Linked DNA regions of Homo sapiens: region 1 is linked to region 2. The links are contacts of gene promoters, found by promoter capture Hi-C in blood cells and fetal thymus (Javierre and others, 2016). All regions are on one chromosome and are shown on one strand. The core of a region is centred on a gene start or on the middle of the fragment in contact, and the rest is flanking DNA. Distances in the headings are between cores, read along the strand shown.

The links. The method cuts DNA at HindIII sites, captures the fragments that hold promoters and counts their contacts. A CHiCAGO score of 5 or more calls a contact.
Region 1: a fragment that was not itself captured here is called in contact with the fragment with the promoter of CCDC148 in region 2 in 1 of 17 cell types (neutrophils); the score reaches 7.3 in neutrophils.

What each region holds. Positions count from the first base shown.
Region 1 is chr2:157,302,724-157,305,423 of GRCh38, forward strand. The region is part of intron 7 of GALNT5 (polypeptide N-acetylgalactosaminyltransferase 5); the gene reads left to right. Among named protein-coding and RNA genes, the nearest start is that of ERMN, 22 kb to the right of the region's middle. The HindIII fragment of the contact is 2,838 bases long and covers 1-2,700 here.
Region 2 is chr2:158,455,384-158,458,083 of GRCh38, forward strand. CCDC148 (coiled-coil domain containing 148) reads right to left here and starts at 1,370. Exons shown (of 14, transcript NM_138803.4): 1 at 1,032-1,370. The coding sequence starts at 1,056. It overlaps PKP4 (plakophilin 4), which reads left to right and starts at 1,569. Exons shown (of 22, transcript NM_003628.6): 1 at 1,569-1,835. LOC124907900 reads right to left here. Exons shown (of 1, transcript XM_047446754.1): 1 at 1,748-2,700. The coding sequence starts at 2,071. The coding sequence ends at 1,748. RefSeq lists silencers at 1,274-1,568, 1,299-1,668, 1,889-1,938, 2,189-2,238, 2,259-2,318 and 1 more. The HindIII fragment of the contact is 15,946 bases long and covers 1-2,700 here.

The sequences.
Region 1 (2,700 bases), core at 109-2,608, 1.2 Mb before region 2:
AGTGAGTTCCTATGAAATTTCTGGAGAGCTCTCCTAATGAAACAGCCTTCTGCTGATGCCTCCGCTATACTATATCAAAATGCACCAAGTATTTTAAAAAGTGATTTTAACAAATTCCTTCTATTTTCCTTTGTTGTCTTCCTTAAACAAATTTCAGTGAAGATGTAGTTTGCTCCCTTCTGAAGCAAACCAGCAGGGAGCGTTATTAACATTTTTAAAAAATTAGGACCTTTCTCCAGGTAATTTACAACAAATTAAGTAGATCATTATTTTAGATAGACAATCGTGGAAAGTTCCAAGAAAATAAACTCCACAACTTCTTTTTGTTACTTGCTTCGTTTCCCTTCTTTCAACCTCCACTACGGAATTTAGATCCAGTGAAAGTTTTGTGTTTTGTAATAAGAACAAACATTTTCTTATCGAACCAACAATATTTGAAGCTAATAATCTCACCAATAATGTATTTTTCACTGGATTAAACTGCTGGCAAACAGTCTATAGCTCCGTTTCCCTTTTTTCAACCTCCACAAGCAGAAATTTAAATCCAGTGAAAGTTTTGGTTTTTTGTAATAAGAAGAAATATTTTCTTATTGAAACGACAACATTTGAAGCTAATGAAAGAATCTCACCAATAATGTATTTTTACACTGGATTAAACCGCTGGCAAATAGCCTAATGTTTAACAATTCTGTCATAAATTGTGCGGAATGTCTACTTCCTAAATTGGAAAATGAAATAATACAACATGGATAATTTAAAATTCATACACTGCCTATTTTTTTTAAAGATTAAAATGGTTTACAGTAAAAACATGGATCAATTATTTTTAAATAAAAAGGAAAATTCTGAAAACAACTAATAATGAAATGAAGAATAACAATTCCAAAACACTTCAGAGATGATGTCTATATGAAGAAAAGTATTAGGTTGGTGTAAAAGTACCTTCCATGGCAAAAACCTCAATTAAATAGTTTCCTCAGTAATTTCTAAGAAAAAGGAAAAAAAAATCTTCAGGTCAAATGAGGGAGGGACATGTAAGGGACAGAAAAGTTTTATCTTTCCTTCCAATGCTTTTCGGTTCTTGGAAGGATTATACAAAATAGACACAAATAGTTAAACAGGGGGTTCCCAAACACTGTCCTGACCAATGTTACTTGTGCTGTCTCAGGGTTCCATGGTCAAGCACATTTGAGAAACATTTGTACAACATTCTGACAGCAAGCTGAACATTAACACCCTGAAGATTTTGAGAAGTTCTGGAGTAGAACCACCTGTTCGGCTCTGTGGAAACCAGAATTTTCCAAATTTGTTTGAAGATAGAATATTTCTGCATGATCCACAAATACAGGAGCTTACATAATATTTATCTCTGCTTCAGTACAGAGAGCAATTGCAGCATGCTTTCCTTCCTTTAAGCCCCGAGATTATTCTACCTTCATGTCTTTCTATTCACCTTCCTCTCTGAAGTTCAGGGGTGGGACTGTGGGGGCATTGAATCCTTCTGTGCCTTGTGATGCCCACATTTACTAACAGTGAGCTGTCTCCTCCCATATTTGTCATTTTAAATTGCTAATAGAGCTTTCTCTGAGGATTTTTGATAGAGATTCCATCCTTCCATAGTTGCTTTGTTTCTGCCTGTGCCAGGCACCTCAGAAGTAATTAACAACCTGGTACTATTTTTAATGTTTGTTTCTATGCCTTGAAAGTCTGTGATGGTTCCTATCCAAGGCAGGTGGTGTAAATATTCATCTCAAATCCAAATGAAGCCTGGTGTAAAGTTTCAGATTCTCAGGGACAATCCAGCTTCCTTGTTTTCTCCCTTTGCTAATGGGCAAATTGTTTTTCCCAGTGCAGCATTCAACTGAAGATCTGTTTTTCCGCTGTTATGTGGAAGACCTGAATTCCAGATTTTTGGTTTACACATACCTCTGTTTTTCTTCCATCCATATGAGGGAACAAGTCTTTCTTGCCAACCTTTGCAAGTTTCCCTGTAGCCTTTAATTTTTTCCGCATATTCTGATCCCTGAAGATGTCCCTTACTTTCTTGTTCACTAAGCTAAGCATGTAAAATTGAGGACCAATGTACTGAGCCCCCTTTTATGAAGTCTGGCAATTCTGTGAGCATCCAGTCTGCATCAGTGCAGCACCCTGAGTTAGAGCTCTTTGTTAGGCATCATAGAACAGGAAGGACACAAATAGTGTCCCTGGCAACAAAGACTTCAGCTCCTCCCAGCTCAGGAGGCTTTCCCAGGACATGTCCTATAGATTCGGCTCTGCACAGCTGTTCGAGAAATCTGAAAACCCTAAGTTGCACTGTTAACCCATCATCTTGTTAGCCCTGCCCAGGATGTCAAAGGGGGAAAGGAAATCAACATTTTTCTGCATTAAATGGTGACTTAAAGAAAGCTACCTCCATATTTGACCCTGTAAATCCATTAAAAACCTGGGGGCCTGCCAGAAAGTGCCTTTATGCTTGGCTCTGTATTAGCTTTCGTGACTTTCCTATAATGAATTGTAGCTTGCTTGGGTCATTAAGAAGATTCTGACAGGGAATCAGCTGGAATCTGCTGTTCTTTGAAGGACTCAATTTATCTATGATTCAGTGCTTAAGCAGTCAAAAGGCTTGAAGGGGTCAGTCAGGGAACATAGCTCATAACTCTTATAGGTGCATTGACTTTTAGTATATGCATTAGATAAACT
Region 2 (2,700 bases), core at 120-2,619:
GGAGAGGTTTTTTTTTTTCCAATCAAGGCACCATATTAACATTTCTTAGGTTACATCTTTGTAATCTTCAATTATAGTAAGATAAAAACCAGTAGCAAAGCATATCACCCAACTTAAAATTCAGAACAATACTTAGACATATGCAGCTTGCACACACATTAACCTGTTTCTCCCAACAAAATATTTGTAATTTCCAAAATCCTATCAGCTTTTTCACACAATATGGTCCCTCCAATTTGAGGGGTAGTAACATAGTCTCCTTACTAAAGAGATTAGTCTAAAAAAAGTAAAATCGCCAAAAGAATGTAAGAATATCAGTGGCTATAGGCTAGAGCAATATCATCTTTTAAAGCCTAATATGTTCATGAAATCTCACTTTAAGAAGGTGATATCTAAACATAAAATTTATTGACAAAAAACAATTAGTATTGATAAACCACCACAAAATGATTTTAAATGAAAGTAGAAGACATTATTAAAGCTCAAGATTTTTGCGTGTACTGATTTCATGCCTCAGGTTATTTCCATATCAAATTTAAAGAGATACTGGAAAATAGAAAACAAAATCCATCAACTGTAATCCATTTCCCTTACTCTTTTGTGAAATCATCACAAGGTGTGAAGGATTGTTTCTGTTTCCTCTATCTTTAACAAGCCTGTAACCTCTCAAGTGAAAGAACATGCACCTGTCAAGCTCATAGTGCGGGATGTACACACAGATGTGTTTAATAAATATCTGCCCACAGGGAGATTAGAGGTTTGCTTTGAGAATCAGGGAACAGGCTAGCTCATGTGTTGACGCTTTGGCATCTATCATACAATCCGCCACCTCGTTCCCTTACCAAAATATCCTCAAAGGAAATCCTCTTTGAGTCTTTCAGAAGAGTTATGAGTTTGAGGACCCAAAACGTTGAGGAAAGATCCACCCCAGGGAAGGGGGAGTGGCTGCAGAGAACAAACATAAGTAGGATTTAGGTGGCTCAGTGACGTCAGGAGGAAGCAGCGATGGAAGGGATGGGGTGCAAACTCACCTGGAGAAGCAGAAGCTGCACACATGTCAAAGGTCAAAGGGCATAGCCTCAGGGACTCCCCAAACGCAGGAAAAGTGAAACGCCCACTCCTGGGCTCTCGCCGTCAGGGGTACATCTAAGGGCTCAGCTGTTCCTACCTTTGACGCCAGGGACAAACCCTACCAGGCACAGTTGGGATTGGCAGTAAGGCAAGGAAAGCCTGCCCCAGATTTCAGAGCCAGCGCTGGGGAATCTCCCTGTCCTCTCCGCCACCCCCTCCCGCGCCCGAGACCTGAGACACCTTCTCTCTCACACCCACCCTCTCCAGGCCCTCTCGCGCTGAACAGCATCGGTCTCTATGGCGACCTGAAACCGCAGCTCCCATTGGCCTGTTCAATATGAGGGCCGGGCCAATGGGGAGGGCCAGCCCTCTCCTTCCCGCCAATGGGGTGGCGGGAGCTGGCCCGGGGACGGCGGCGTGCTGACGTTCCCGGGAGCCCGGGGCTGGCCGGGCGGGAGGGCTGGCAGCGGGGCGGGCGGCGGCGGCGGCCTCTGGGCAGTAGAGGGGGCTCCGGGGCTGAGTCCGCGTCGACGCCGGCCGCGGAGGCGGCACCATGGGCAAGGGGTAGAGGGGCAAGTTGGCCACCGCCGCCGCCGGGGGTGGTGGGAGAGCCGCTCCGGGGGCGGGGGCCGGTGGGGGAGGGAGGGGCGGGCAGCCGCGCCGCCGCGGCACTTTTTTAATTTTTTCGGGTGCCGCAGCGGCGACCCCTCGGCGCCGATGTCCCTGATCCCTGGAGCGACGACGGCCGCTGCCTAAGCTGGAAAGTAAGTGTGTGGGCTCGCGGGAGGGCGCGGAGACTCCTGCCCACGAGACCCTCGGCCCTCGCCCCGAACACGCGCCAGGGCCAGGACCTGCGCGCCGGGGGCCGGGGGCCTCCCTCCCGCTGCCGCGTCCCCAGCGCCTCGCGGCCGCCGCGGCTTTCCTGCCCCGCCTCGTGTTCCTGCCCGCACTCGCCTGCTGCTCCCCTCCCCCCGGCAGGCGCACAAGTTTCACCCTCCATTTGCTTTTCCCGGCGATTCCTCTCCCCGGTCTCCCGTACGCGCAGCGCACGACCTCTGCCCACGCTGGGCTGTTCGGATTCAGAGCTCCCAGCCCCGAACTTGAGCGCCGCGCTGAGCCCTGCTGGACGCCCTCGCGGCGGCTTCCCCGCTGCCTGCCGCCGCGCGCCCCAAGTCGCCCTCGACACCACTGGGCGCCCGCCCTCCTCAGCACTCGGGGCCGGCTGTCTGTCCTTCTAGCCCCAGATCCTGCACCTTGGTCCCCTCCCCGTCTTCCCACGCCCCTGCTGCCCGCGCGGTCTTGCGTTTGTCCCCGAAGTCCTGTACTCCTTGCCGGTCCTGCCCACCCCTCTGCCTAGTGCGCCCCTCTCTACCGGCCGCGGATCCTCACGCTCCACCCCTCCCGGCTCCCCAGCGCCGAGCCTCGCCGCTGCCCTCCTGCGCCGCCGCTTCCTCCTCTCCCTGCCAGGAGTTGAAGCGGAGCTGCGGCACCTCCCTGGCGGATCTGGTATCCCCGCCCGCTGCCGAGGCTGCCGGCCCTCTCCCCTGGACCGCTACCCGGAGAGCGAGCGGCGGGGCCGGGATTTGGCTGCGTGTTGGCTGAGTGCGACACACCGCGAGCGCGGGCAGT